Linked DNA regions of Homo sapiens: all the other regions are linked to region 3. Evidence: promoter capture Hi-C in 16 types of primary human blood cells and fetal thymus (Javierre and others, 2016). All regions are on one chromosome and are shown on one strand. Each heading gives the region's core, a stretch centred on a gene start or on the middle of the fragment in contact. The rest is flanking DNA. Distances are from core to core; before and after follow the strand shown.

Evidence for each region. Contacts are between HindIII fragments. The CHiCAGO score rates a contact against its expected background, and 5 or more counts as called.
Region 1: a contact is called between a fragment that was not itself captured here and the fragment with the promoter of SNAPC1 in region 3, in 1 of 17 cell types (neutrophils). The highest score is 10.9, in neutrophils.
Region 2: a fragment that was not itself captured here is called in contact with the fragment with the promoter of SNAPC1 in region 3 in 1 of 17 cell types (neutrophils); the score reaches 9.4 in neutrophils.
Region 4: a contact is called between a fragment that was not itself captured here and the fragment with the promoter of SNAPC1 in region 3, in 1 of 17 cell types (neutrophils). The highest score is 5.8, in neutrophils.

Annotation. Positions count from the first base shown.
Region 1 is chr14:61,624,793-61,628,413 of GRCh38, reverse strand. The region is part of intron 1 of LINC03033 (long intergenic non-protein coding RNA 3033); the gene reads right to left. Among named protein-coding and RNA genes, the nearest start is that of LINC01303, 56 kb to the right of the region's middle. The HindIII fragment of the contact is 5,067 bases long and covers 1-3,621 here.
Region 2 is chr14:61,589,598-61,593,143 of GRCh38, reverse strand. The region is part of intron 1 of LINC03033 (long intergenic non-protein coding RNA 3033); the gene reads right to left. Among named protein-coding and RNA genes, the nearest start is that of LINC01303, 21 kb to the right of the region's middle. The HindIII fragment of the contact is 4,871 bases long and covers 1-3,546 here.
Region 3 is chr14:61,760,056-61,763,712 of GRCh38, reverse strand. SNAPC1 (small nuclear RNA activating complex polypeptide 1) reads right to left here and starts at 1,293. Exons shown (of 10, transcript NM_003082.4): 1 at 1,125-1,293. The coding sequence starts at 1,252. RefSeq lists enhancers at 323-1,066, 1,067-1,810, 1,878-1,967, 1,811-2,554, 2,555-3,299. The HindIII fragment of the contact is 7,963 bases long and covers 1-3,657 here.
Region 4 is chr14:61,606,768-61,610,035 of GRCh38, reverse strand. All of the region lies in intron 1 of LINC03033 (long intergenic non-protein coding RNA 3033), which reads right to left. Among named protein-coding and RNA genes, the nearest start is that of LINC01303, 38 kb to the right of the region's middle. RefSeq lists enhancers at 101-712, 1,161-1,910, 1,911-2,661. The HindIII fragment of the contact is 369 bases long and covers 1,808-2,176 here.

The DNA.
Region 1 (3,621 bases), core at 482-2,981, 140 kb after region 3:
TTGGAGAGGGAGGGTGTCTCTCATCCTCTTTTTCCTCTCTCCATCCTACTCCAAATGACTCATCGAAATTCTTCTACTAACACATACAGTGTTCCTCCTGCGAAGATTTCTAGGTAATACTGTTTTCTCTGTCTTGTTGCATTTTCTGCCATGTCTGCTCTAGCCCAGTGATGTATCAATGCACCTTATTGATTGGCAGCTGCCCCAGGGGCCCTTTCATCCAGCTTTAACCAGTTCCAAAGCATGTGACTGCCCTCCTCTTAGGCAGTTGAGAACCATTATATTAGAATTAGAGAGAGAGAGAGAACCAAAATTCTGCAGATGACCACCCCAAAATATTGTTGTGTTGCTATAATTGGGAACTTTTGTGCCCATGGTGGATGAGGTTTGAGCAAACAAAGGTAAAAGTTGTGGGCGATGGAGTAAATAGATTAATGCTTTTCGTCATCTCCCTAAGCATCCTGAGCATGTGTATTTGCCAGGGTCACAGCAGGAAACAGGTGGCACTCAAAGTGCATGATTAGAGAAAGGTTAATGAAGAGAATATATACAAGTGTAAGGGTAGAGTTGAGGGAAACCAAGAGAGGATAGTGAAACCCTCCTATGCTAGCAGCAGCAGAGACTGTTACCACCTCTATGACCTCCAGGCCTAAGAGGCAAGAGGATGGAGAGGTTACAGCAACCTGGAGAAGTTCACCCAACAGGAGCTGTGGCATTTGGTTGAGGAACACAGCCATTGTCAAATCTGACCTGGCAAGGAAGAAACAACCTCTCTCTCTTCCTTTCTTCTAATCTTTTGCTGGTGGTGCTCACAGCTCAATCCCAATCAGAAACCCAAGAGATGGGCAGCCTAACTGATGCAGTCCATAAAGGTCAACCTCTTGGGGCACAGAACAGGGTACAGACTAGATCTGAATTAAGCAAATGCAGAAGAGTGAGTGCAACATCTACCTCAGTCAATGATTACCATGTTTTTAAAATGACTGGATCTGCTCACATTATGTTAAACACAGTGTGTACACTGAGCCTAACAATGATGGCTAGCAACTTATAACTGGATATCGGGGGCACAGCATGACTAAAACTATCCCTCATGTCTATACATATTGCAGATGCATTCCATAAAATTTCTGAATTCATGTCTTAAGAAAAACTATGCTTTTTACACAAGTTCCTTAAAAGAATCATAACTACATGAAAAACATTACAGTATGCTCACTAAAGGCTATAATTAATTTTGGACAACTTATAGACTTTGAAATGCCTTGTTGAAATGCCAAAATTTCTGAAATTTTCTGAAAGAAAATTTGCCCAACAGGCAAGACAGTGGATTTTACTGTGGACTAATAGCTGTCCATGCAGCGTGATTCACCACAGCATCTGGAAGGTGCCTCCTCACTGGGCCCTGAGGTGGGACATCAAATAATTAGAAATTCCTTTTTATGGCTTAGTGGTTTCGTTGTTTTATTTTTGTAAAATGTAAATGCCCTGAGAATTAAAACATCATTTATTCATTCACTTAATTCTTTCTTCTTGAAACGTTTATTGCTACTATCTGTTAGACTTGGAGTAAAAACACGAACAAGACAGTCTTTGTCCTCAAGGTGATCAGAGTCTAATGGAGATTGGACAATGTAGTCAAGGATTCCAGAATTGGCTGATACATGCCATGGTAGAGGCATGCACAAGATCCTACGGGGGAACTATCTAACTCTTTCACGATGGATGGAGAATGGTAAGGAGGGTGATGAGAATAAAGAAAGACCCTTCACAGCTGACATAATGCCTAAACCAAAGATAAATGGGAGTGCACCAGGTAGATGAAGTAGAGACAGTGTAGAAAGGAGACTGCAGGAAAAATAGACCCTTCCTCACTTGGCCCCAGAGGATATGAAGCTAGAAGGAGACTCTAAAGTGGAATGAGGAAGGGACTTGAATGTCATTCTAAGGAATCAATGACAGGTTAAGTAGAGGAGAGACCCTCTAATATTTGGCCTGCAGAAAATCATCCTGAGGCAATGCAAGGGATTGGATGAAGGAGGCAAAACTGGAAAGTGAGTCAGTTAAGAAGGCCTTGCAATGGTTTTAGCAGAAGGTGAAAAAGTGTAAACTAATGAGTGAGAGGAGAGAGGATGGAGAGATGCCAAAAAATATTTAGTAGGAAATGAGCATGACTATTTAATCAATTCACTATGATAAAGACTAGGAGAGGGTATGAATAATTAAAGAAGAAAGATTATTATGATGCCTGCATTTTTGTCTTCGGTGACTGGGTAGAGAAGTTAGCATCGAATAAGATGAGGCATACAGGCAGAGGGGCATGTTCACAAAGGAAAATGTTGAGTTTTATCTCACATATCTTGAGAAAAAGCGTGGGAGAGAAGTCGGAGAGATGTGAATATGAGTGGTAACTAAAGCAGTGGGCCAGGAAGAGCCCTCTCAGAAACTATGGGGGGCAAGCAGAGAAGAGATTGGAAAGCTAGTCTTTTAGGAAGCACCCATATTTGAGGGTCATATTAAGGAAGAGTACATAGAGCACACAGAGATTAGAGTCAGAGATTTTAATGAAGCAGTGGTATACAATATCACATGCTACACAGACAGATCATACTAATCAGGATACATTTGGCTGCAAGTAACAGAATAGAAGTGGCTTCAGTCATTATGAATGACTTATCAAGTAGTCTGAGGTAGGTGGTCTCTTTCTGGGCTCTGTGACCCAGCAATGTCATGGAGAATCCAGACTTTTTCCATTCGTCTTCTCTGCCCACCTTCAGCGTGTAAAAAATTTCACCTTCAGGGTCATAGGCTGGACATTACAAGCAAAAAGTTTGCATGTGAGAACTTGCCAAACAGAAATCAAGGGGAGTAGAGACAATAAGTCTTTCTCCTTGTGTGCCTCATTCTTTTTCAAGGAAGAAAATATTTTCCAGGGGATGGCATCAGATTTCCCCTTATGTCTCATTGACCAAGGGTCCTTGCCCTTCCTAGATCAATGACTGACAAAATGAAGGGGGTTGCCATGACTGCCTGAGCTCAATCATGACTCATCCCTGAGGGCTGGGCAAATAAAATGGAGGCCTGTTAGCAATGTGTCTCTCCTACAGGAGCCCAGTTAGTATAGGACTGGGGAGTGTCCACTGGATTTGGCAATTAGGAGCTTACGGGTGGCCTCAGTGAGAGAAGTTTTAATGGGGGCTGAGTTAGGAAGTGGCACTGAAACCAGATTATAGTAGGTTGAAGACTGCATAGTAGTAGGCTGTAGGCTATTCCTCGACTAAATGGGAGTATGCTTATTAACCCTTTGCTGAAAACAGATTTTTATGAATGGAGAGATGGCAAAAGTTATTTAAGGGTTCAGGGAAAGAAAAACCAAGAACGAAGAAGTTGGAAGATAGAAGACAAACTGCTCCCTTTGGCAAGGAGGAAGATTTTCTCCAAATTTTTCCAAATTTGAATTTCTTTTCATTGCTAGTCTCAGCCACAGAATGTAATTTTTAGAAGTCTGAGTCAGCAACAAGAAAGAGAGGCTGTTCTGAACTCTGAATAGAGCCTTACTATTCTACAGCTGTATACAACTAGGGGAGAAATGTGATTAAAAGGTTTCTACAAAGAACCTAA
Region 2 (3,546 bases), core at 513-3,012, 170 kb after region 3:
ATATTCAATAAAGAACATTTGTGTAGCATTTCACACAGCACCCCAGCCTATATTACTTGATTTTAACTTCACAATACTATTGTGAGAAGATAGCGTTTTCCAAATTTTACACACAAAACCCAAATACTTTTTAAGTTACTTGTCCAAGGTCACACAGCAAGTATTTTTAAGAGCAGGACTCAAACCTGGTTCTTTCAATTTCAGTATTTTATGTTAATATATAACATGCCCTTGGTACCTATGTTTGGCAGACTCCATAACACATCATATTTATTCCTTATATTTTACAGCATTTCTTTTTTTCCAGATGTGCTATGTTAATTCATGTGATACAATAACTTTCTGAGGTAGGTGGGGCAAGTACTCATCTCATTTTTACAGATAAGTGAGTAGGTTTCCAGTGGCTAAATGACACATATCATTAGTAGAATGGCTCAAGATAAATTTCGGTTCTCTGCTGTCCAGGTGACTACCTGTGGTAGACAGAATGGCTCCCCAAAGATGTTTAACTCCTAACTCCCAAAACCTGTGAATATGTTACCTTACATGGCAAAAGGGACTTTGAAGATGTGGCTAATTTAAGAGCCTTGAGATAGAGAGATTATCCTGAATTATCTGGGTGGGGTTGGTGTAATCACAGGGGTTCTTATAAGAGGGAGGCAGGTGGGTCAGAGTCGGGGAATGAGCTATGATGATGGAAGCAGGGGTCATAGTCAGAGAGACAGTGGGCGAGCTTTGAAGATGCTATGCCACCAGCTTTGAAGGTGGAGGAAGGAGCCACAAGCCAAGGGATGGAGGTAGCCTCTAGAAGCTGGGAAAGGCAAGGAAACAGGTACTTCCCTGCAGCCTCTGGGAGGCAAAGGCCCCGCAGACATCTTGATGCTAGGATTTCTGAGTTCCAGAACTATAAGGTAGTACATTTGTGTTGCTTTAAGCTACTAAGTTGTGGTAATTTGTTACAGCAGAAATAGGGAACTAATACACCACTCTGAACAATGACTGACCTCAGCAGAGTAGGAGACAGTCAGACTATTTCCCGTACACCCAAAACCCCAGGCCTGGAGGGAGGGGCTGGGGCAGGTCAGGAACAGGTCTTGGGATGCTGAGAGGCCAGTATGCTGCAAGCCTCTGCTGTTTCACAGGGAGATGTGGGGCCTGCTGTTCTTCTCGCTAAAGTCTTCCAGTGGCCTCCCAGGGCATGGGGAGTAAACCCCAAACCCCCTAACACAGCCCACCTTTCTAGCCTCATCTCAGCCCATCTCTCCCTCAGTTACCACACTGCAGATGTTCCTGCCTTCTTCCTGCTGCTAGTCTCACCTTAGAATCTCACAGGGAACCTTCTGATCACCTCCTCAGAGAGCATTTACCTGACCACCTCTCCAAAGTGTCCCCCAGTCATTCTCTGACAACTACTTTTATTGTCTTTATAATGCCCGGTAATACCCGTGACTTTATTTTTAAATATATTTTTTAATTTTTAGTTCTGGGGTACATGTGCAGGATGTGCAGGTTTGTTACACAGGTAAACATGCGCCATAGTGGTTTATTGCACCTGTCGACTCATCACCTAGGTATTAAGCCCAGCATACATTAGCCATCTTTTCTAATACTCTCCCTCCCCCCACCCCATCCCCCAACAGGCCCCAGTGTTGTTCACTCATGTTGTCTGTGTCCCTCAATAAAATGTATACCCATGAGAACTATCCATGTCACGGCTCTGTCCCAAGTGCCTGAGTATGTTTCCCATTCAAAAAGTATTTGTTGAATGGATGAATAGACCTGAGGCAGCCTTCCAACAGGAGCACCTGCTTTCTTCCGGCATCATCTCTAGCCCTGCAAGAGGAGCTTCTGCTTAGATAGGAATGCTGAGAACCATCAGAATCTTTTCTCTGCAGGATTCCTGGCTGCCTTTAGACATAAGCCTGGCGCTCACATCTGGGCCATGGTGTGCTCCTGTTGAACATAATTTCCATAGAACACCAACATCAGATACAGCCGCTCTGTGACTGTAATGGAGCAAAAGAAAACAAGATGATCCCATAATCATGTCTAGACCCAGACAAAAATAAGAACATTGTCCGAACCACAAGAATGACCAAAGATGCTCCTTTCCTGGCTAATATGAGCAACTTCTGCTTCTTTATTAATTACACCTTTAGCCTCATCTCATTCCTTCTGCCTTCTAGGTAAGAATTATTAAGATACCCAGTCCTAGAATTACCTCTGCTTCCTGATAACATCCAAAATCCAGAGCAATCTCCCACTTCCCTGAATCCTCCCCAGTATCACCTAAGCCCAAATCCTACAAGAAGTCCTTTATCACATCCTCTTACTGAGCTGCCCCATGGCTCCCCGTGCTATCTGTGTGTTATTCCTCATTGCAACTAGTCCATAAACCCAACATTGTCTGACTTCAGTTCTCTAGCAGGAGGACTGGAGGACTGACTTCAGTTCTCTAGCAGGAGGATTGGCAAAGTGGACTGGAAGGCAGGCCCAACTTTTTTGCTATCTGTGAGGGAGAAATCCTAATTGGGCCAACTGGTCAGCTAGAAAATCCTGAACTGCTTTGCCAATGAAACAATAATACTGGATGCATCCGGGTGCACATTACCCAACTGGCACAAGACAGAGGCTGGTGGGGTTCCTGGTGGAGCTGCTTCCTTATAGGTGCATGGCAGGAAGGGGCCCAGCAGGTGCAGCTGTGGCCTGCCTGGCTGGCCTCAGAGGTGCCTCTGCCCAAGCCACAGCTGCTCCCCACTGCTAATCTATCCAAGTCAATCTCAACACAGTTCGAAAGCCCCTCCTGCTTGCACTCATTTCCTGTGCTTCTTACATTCCCCCTCAGACTCTTCTCCCTGCCTGAGCTAATCTTGTTGATCCCCCCACCACCTCCCGCCTCCACGCCGCCCCACAGCCTGCACCTCTGTCACAGGTCTGTGCATCTGCACCAGCGGGGGTCTGGCCTCTGGCCTCCGTCCGCTTTTAAAGCCTTGCTTGATGATTAACCCACATCTTCCCCAAAGGCTTCTTGGCTGAGCCCAGTTGGCTGCCCAAGTTGATAGCAGCTGCTGTCAACATTTACAAAGGGAGCTCCAGTGATGGTAGCTGACTGGGGTGATTTACGGGGTTTGGCCGTGGTGGGAGTGGGGTTCACATAATTCATCTCCACACGTAGAGCCTCAACTTCCCCAGGGCAGAGGTTTTTTTCTTTTCCCCCTGGGTTTTTGACCACTTCCTCCCCAGTACCCAGAAGCTGAAAAGCCAGTGCTCAGCACTCCAGAGGCTCAGTGCCCTATGAGAAGGCCAGTCAAGAAGAGACTGTCTCCTACAGGACTGGGGAATGATACCTGCTTCTCAGGTGATCAATGCCTGCCGCTGGCAGGAATTGTCAGGGATTCTAGAAGCATGTCCATTATCTTGATGGGCCCAAGTTGTTTGTTCCTAACTCTGAGCTTCATGGCTTTCTATCCACAAAATCTTGATCCTGGGATATTTTTATTTCTCAATCTAGACATCTGCCAGCCTGTCTGACTACTGCAGGGCCCA
Region 3 (3,657 bases), core at 44-2,543:
CAAAATGTGGAAAGCGGTGACATAAAATAAAAACAGGGTGCTATGCGGGGAAAAAACATGAACAGCGTACTCAGTCTAGAAGAGCAAAAAAGACTTCCCCCGAGGATGTCATTTGAGCTTAACCCTGAGTGAAGAATAAGGTGGACAAAACAAGAGAGTTGCGGTGGAAACTCCAGGATTAGGAAAAGCCTGTAGAGGGCCCAAAGAAAAAAAAAAAAAAAAAAAAGCAGCTGCTGGAGCAAGAAAGTGAGTGCATGGAGGGGACTGGCAGGCGAAGCTGGAGAGATAGGCAAAGGCCAGTGAGGAATGGTCTTGGCAAGTCAGAGAATTCAAGCGTTATCCCAAAGGCAATGGGCACCACTACAGAGTAATAAGTCGGGGAGTGACATAATCAAATTTGCACTTTTGAAAAACAACTTTTGGGCCGGGCGCGGTGGCTCACTCCTGTAATCCTAGCGCTTTGGGAGGCCGAGGCGGGCGGGTCACGAGATCAGGAGTTCGAGGCCAGTCTGGCCAACATAGTAAAACCCCGTCTCTACTAAAAATACAAAAAATTAACCGGGCGTGGTGCCGGGCACCTGTAATCCCAGCTACTCCGGAGGTTGAGGCAAGAGAATCACTTGAACCTGAGAGGCGAAGGGTTGCACTGAGCCGCGAACGCGCCATTGCACTCCAGCCTGGGCGACAAAAGGAGACTCCGTCTCAAAAAAAAAAAAAAAAAAAAAAAAAAAGACAACTTTGGTTGTTGGAGGAAAAATTAATTCAATCTTGAAGGGTTTTGTCTTTGCTTGTGTGTTTTTAAACATCAGGTCCTAGAACAAGACTGGGGAAGGGCAAATGATAGTGGCCTGGCTCAGGGTGGAGATGGGAGAGAGGAGTTTAGAAGGGAGGCCAGGCAGAGACGCATATTTGGGAGGAGGCCGCAACAACCATCAGGGCACAATGAAATAGAGCAGGGAAAGCGCGTTGCCTGAGCACAGGGGAAGGTCCAGGAGTCATGGAGGCAACCTTCGGTGACTGCCGCTCTTCTCAGCCCTTCACAAGTGCAATATCGCCGGGAAGGAGGCAACTTTCTACACCACCTGCGGGCAGGGAGAGGCGGGTGGTGGACAAGAAACACCCACCAGAAGATAGTCCCGAACTTCATGTTTCTCCAGAGCTCCGTGAAGTCCTCGAAGCGTACACTGTCCGTCTCCTGGAAGCGGCTGAGCAGCGCCTCGCAGTCGGTCTGCAGGCCGGGAGGAGTCCCCATGGCACCCGAAGCCCGCACGCCTCCGAAGCCCGCACGCCTCTAACGGACTAGCCAGCGGTGGTCGCCCAGGAAACCAAGCCCGAACGGCCCGCCCCCTACGGCGTGCGCACACGCGCTCCGTGATGCATTATCCGGCACCTTTAGCTCCGCCTTTATCCGGGCTCTTGCCACCGGTCGTGTGCTTACTGCGCGTGCGTGAAAGCGTTCTGATGTTTTACTGGCTGAGATTGCTTTCACCCAGAGTGCTGAGATCCACCCTTCTTTGGAAGAGGTTTACGTCTAAAGTGTTGTGTTTGCTCACGAGCGGTTTTAGGTCTTCATTTTCCGCTAGGTTATGTAACTTGACTTTACCCTTACTAGCACTCTCCTTTAAACTGACCCTAGTGTGACATAAGTGAACTTTTGAGCTAGGAAAGAACAGTCCCAACCCCAACCCCACTCCCACTTGGGAAGAGAAGCTAAAGAAGGCTTGCTAGGAAACAAACTGCACTCATTCTCCTTCTGGTCATCGAGAACCCTAATACTCTGTACCCACATAATACGATGCTTAATGTGCGGCCCTCTCTTTGTAGCCCTGGCATTCTGCAACCACTCTTGAAAAGAAGAGCTGCATTTCATACCCTCTTGTAAACAGCCCTCCTCCTGCCCTGCCACGCATTCACCCCTGTGCTACATAGCACTTAGCAGAAAATACCTACTTGTTATATTCTTGTTATATTATTATTTGGATGAATTGCCTTTTTGTGTACACGCTGCCACCTAGCTTCCTTCCTCCAGGAGCTAGCTATGGAGTAACATTTTGAACTTTAGATCATTTCTCTGATTGAAAGGTAAGCTATCATTCTTTAGAAGAGGTATCCTGATATAATAGAAAAACATTGGGCTTTCTGTGTGTAAATGGAGTGTCAACTCACTTTACTTTTCTGATCCTTGACCTGTTTTTGTTTGTTTGTTTGTTTGTTTGGATTTGTTTGTTTTTTGTTTTGAGACGGAGTTTCGCTCTTGTTGCCCAGGCCGGAGTTCAGTGGCGCGGTCTCGGTTCACTGCAACTTCCGCCTCCCGAGTTCAAGCGATTCTCCTGCCTCAGCCTCCCGAGTAGCTGGGATTACAGGCATGCACCACTCCAACCGGATTTTGTTTTGTTTTGTTTTGTTTGTATTTTTAGTAGAGACAGGGTTTCACCATGTTGGCCAGGCTGGTCTCGAACTGCTAACCTCAGGTGATCCGCTCCCCTCGGCCTCCCAAAGTGTTGGGATTACAGACGTGAGCCACTGCACCCTGCCCTCTTGACCTGTTTTTTAAATGTTATGTAATATTTTATGTCACAGAAAAATTTATGCGATGTGTGAGATAAAAAGCATAGCAGTTAAACACCTGTACACCTTTCACCTGTGTAGGAACCAGAACATTACCAACGCCTTCACATCAATCTGCGATTTCCTCCTCTGACCTATTCCTTTGACTGTACCCTACTTTAATCACAGCTACTGGTTGGGCACGGTGGCTCACGCCTGAAATCCCAACACTTTGGGAGACAAAAGCAAGAGGATTGCTTAAGCACAAGAGTTGGAGACCAGCCTGGGAAACATGGTGAAAATTAGCCGGGCATGGTGGTGCACACCTGTAGTCCCAGCTACTCGGGAGGCTGAGGTGGGAGGATCATTTGAGCCTGGGAGATGGTGGTTACAGGAGACAGAGGTTGCAGTGGTGAGCCGAGATCGTGCCACTGCACTCCATCCTGGGCTACGGAGTGAGACCGAATCTCAAAAAATAAATAAATAACTACCTTGAATTTTGTTTCTCTTTCTCATGTATATATTTTATCACATATGTATGTATATTTAAACGGTATATTTTTTAGTTGTGGTTGGTTTTGAGTTTTATGAAAATGGTATTGCAACTGGCTGGGCGCAGTGGCTCACGCCTGTAATCCCAGCAATTTGGGAGGCTGAGGTGGGTGGATCACCAGGTCAAGAGTTCGAGACCAGCGTGACCAAAATAGTGAAACCCCGTCTCTAATAAAAACACAAAAATTAGCTAGGCGTAGTGGCGTGTGCCTGTAATCCCAGCTACTTGGGAGGCTGGGGCAGGAGAACCACTTGAACCTGGGAGGCAGAGGTTGCAGTGAGCCAAAATGCATTATTTCCCCCATGATAGAGTGGGGGAACCATTTGGGAAATGGTTCATTACAACAGATAATTTGAGAAGCACTGTTATACACCATTTCAGTCCACATTCCATTGGCCAGAACTCAGTCACATGGACCCATTCAGGTGCAAAGGTGGCTGAGAAACGTCATCACTAATTAGGCAACCTCTCCCCAACAATAGTTTCAATCGCTGGAAGAGGTGCACACGTCTTTGTTGGACCACGTATTAGCTCATTTCTGCTGCTATAACAAAATA
Region 4 (3,268 bases), core at 743-3,242, 150 kb after region 3:
ACGGGGTCCACCTATGTCAGCGGCAACAGCAACTTTAGTAATTGTTTAGAGCTTGCAAGGAAGAGTGTTTTATCAGTGACACTGTTTAAAAATTGTCAGCATTTGATGATAATAAGCAGCAGACTGACTTGGAGTCAGTTTTATTATTGTCTTTAAATTCTCACCCCATTACTGCCTGCACTTGCTCTCTCTCACCTCCCTGCCCATTATACACCACTGTGGGTGGACCATTACAGGGGAAGCTGGTGATACACATTAACTCCAGGAACACTGTACTGGAGACACAGCAGAGGGAAGGACACGTGGTATTATCTATCCAAAAGATCAACAAAGATGAAAACAGACAGCTTCCTACTAGGGAAGTCTTAGTGTGGCTCATTGTTATGCCAATGCCCTGTGTTCAGGATCCAGCAGGAAGGTTGTGAGCCCAGGGCCCTGTGGCCCAGTTAATTGTCCGCGGCTCAGCCCTGGCCAGCTGCCTCGGAAATGAATGCCTTTGGCCATACTGGCAAGACAGACAGGAGAGTCATCAGTTTAGATCACATTCATTGCTCTTGTGAGAAAGACAAGAAAAAATACACAGTCTGCCCATGATGTGTCCTCATCTCGTGAAAGATAGGACACTACTGAGTAAAATCAGATTCCCATCCGAAAAGCACATCTTCCGCTAATTAGGCACATTAGCTTTGTGCAAGGTCGGGTGTAAAATAACTTTCATTTCACTCGTTTCAGAAGACAGGGCAGATGAGGGCAAGAGGATATGCCCCACATAACAAGAGCTATTGTTCGGTTTTTCAGGAAGCCATGGCCTGAACAAGGCATTGGGGTTTTCACAGCTGGACTCACCCCAAAAAGATGATTTTATAAATAGTGTTTTTGTTTTTTACCTTTTCAACTTCATTAGAAAATACAAGGTTTACCTAACCCTAACCCCCAGACGAATAGACATAATGAATTCCCAGACATATAGACTTGGCAGTGACTGCTTCACCCCTGAATGGTTGCTTTGCACTAAGCACTTCTGACACTAATGTTCATGCTTAAGCAAACACATTACTAGGAGAGAAGAATAGCTCTGTCAGCCTGCCCAGGCCACTCAGCACAATGGGAGCTGCAGCTGCCCTGGATCTCATTAAAACAGGGGCAGGGAGAACGGTCCTGTAGACGCACATGGGGATTCTCAGATTCACAGACCTTTGCTTACACATCACACACCATCAGCATCAAACAGCTGACTTCAAGAAGTTCCTAAGAAAGAAAGCTTTACTGGTTATTAATAAGCCTGAAATATTTGTGTCTCTGGATTCTCTGCCAGTCTTCTTTTTCTCTTTGGTTCTTTTCTCTTTACATGACAATACTCACATTTGCAAAATGAGGTGTGTTAGAGAATCAGATGATTTCTAGAGAGAGCTATGTTTGGGACCATTTCTTAATCTTTTCCACCTTTGGAGTGTCTGTGTTCACGTTAGCATTTCTGTCTGGAGTTATGAATTATGCTGTCAAAAGGAGTTTCAAACTGGGTTTGTTACCTGGATACCCACAAATATGCACGGTCTGTTTGTATAAATCTGAAAAACCTTCCTTGTCCTTAGGAAACCAGGCCATTCTGCACATTAGGAAGGGGACAGTGAATCCAGGCTTCCGTTAGTTCTCTGGGCCAGTTGGGGAACAGTGCCTGGATAAATAACAGTAGGAGTCCAGAGTCCGTTCTTGACTGGGGTGGCTGTAATCCATTCACAGGGAGGGAGACGTCTCTGGCTGGAGATGCAGGGCTGAGCATGCCATCAGACACCCCTAAAGGCAAGCTTAAGACCACATCCCATCTGCCTACAATCATAGCAGTCACTATCCCCTCCACATGGTACACAATATGCCTCAGAACAGTCCAGCTCTTAAAGCACAGGCCAGAGGCAGGGACCAAAGGAGGCAAGAGCAATGAAGACACTGGAGGGATGACGGGGTTCTGTGGCTCGACTCCTGGACCATCTGCACCCAGAGTCCACCAGATCTGCCAGGAGAAGGCTCAGCAGTGCTTCTCTCATCGGAACAGACTCAAGCATTGGCATCTGACAATGTCCCCCATATGTCATTCTCACTCTTTTCATAGCCCACCTCCCCCCAACCCACAGCCCAACCTGGAGAAGCCCACTGTGAGTCTGGATGGTCACATCAAGCTTAGGACCCCTGGTGGCACTACGCACAGCAGCATCCTCATGAAGAAAAAGCCCCCCAGTGGCTTCCTGTCTCTCCAGACACGCTCCCCAGACGGCAGTTGTCAGTTTCCATCACCCAAACCCCTTCAGGCCAGGCCCACTAAGATTGGCTCACAAAAAAAGGGAGGGGAGAGAGGCAGCTGCTGCTGACAGGGCCAGCTGCTTCAGAGTCATTTCCTTGCTGCCGGTGCTGGGCAGATGTTCTACTGCCATTTCCCTTGCTACTAACTTCTGATCACTCTCCTGGTAGCTTGATTTTACCTAGTTGAAGGTGTCTCCAAGTGCAGCCTGTGGTCCACTTATAGGAGAATCACCTGGGATGCATGTTTAAAGTGCAGGTTCAGAATCTCTGTGTGTGGGACCCTCAAATTTGTTCTTTTAACAGATACCTCAGATGATTCTCATGCACATAAACATTTCAGAGACACTGAAGTTCTGTGACCACTGGCTCTATGTATTTACATTTTATTTAATTTGGACCTCAGGAGAATAGAGTAAATTACTCACTTCACGTACCACGGCCATCATCAATATGCTTTGGTGACCCGTCCACGCTGCTATATGTAAATCTCCTTTCCCGCTTCTGGCTTGAATAGTGGCCCATCTTGTATTTGTTTATGTTTAACTAAACCATTGCTTTATTAACAAACATCAGTCCTTGTTTACATACATACATACACACACACACACACACACACACACACGCACCATGATGGACAGCTTTACATGTATTCTTATGATCTGCACATCAGTGTTTTCTTGGGCACATACTCAGGGCCAAGAATGCATCCTTGATTTCTCTAGGGACTCCTAGATTGCTCTGCAGGATGGCTGCATTTATTTCCACCCCTCTAGCAGTGTCTTTGTTATACTTGATTTTATCCGACTTTCTCTAAAGTGATCTCTCATTGATGTTTTAATTTGTATTTCTCTGATTGCTAGTAATGTTTAGCATCTTTGTATACACTTATTGGCCATTAAGAGGTTTCCTCTTGTATATTTTGCCTGTTTTCCCTTTTTATTACTGTTTCGCAGGATTTCCTAGATCTACATTC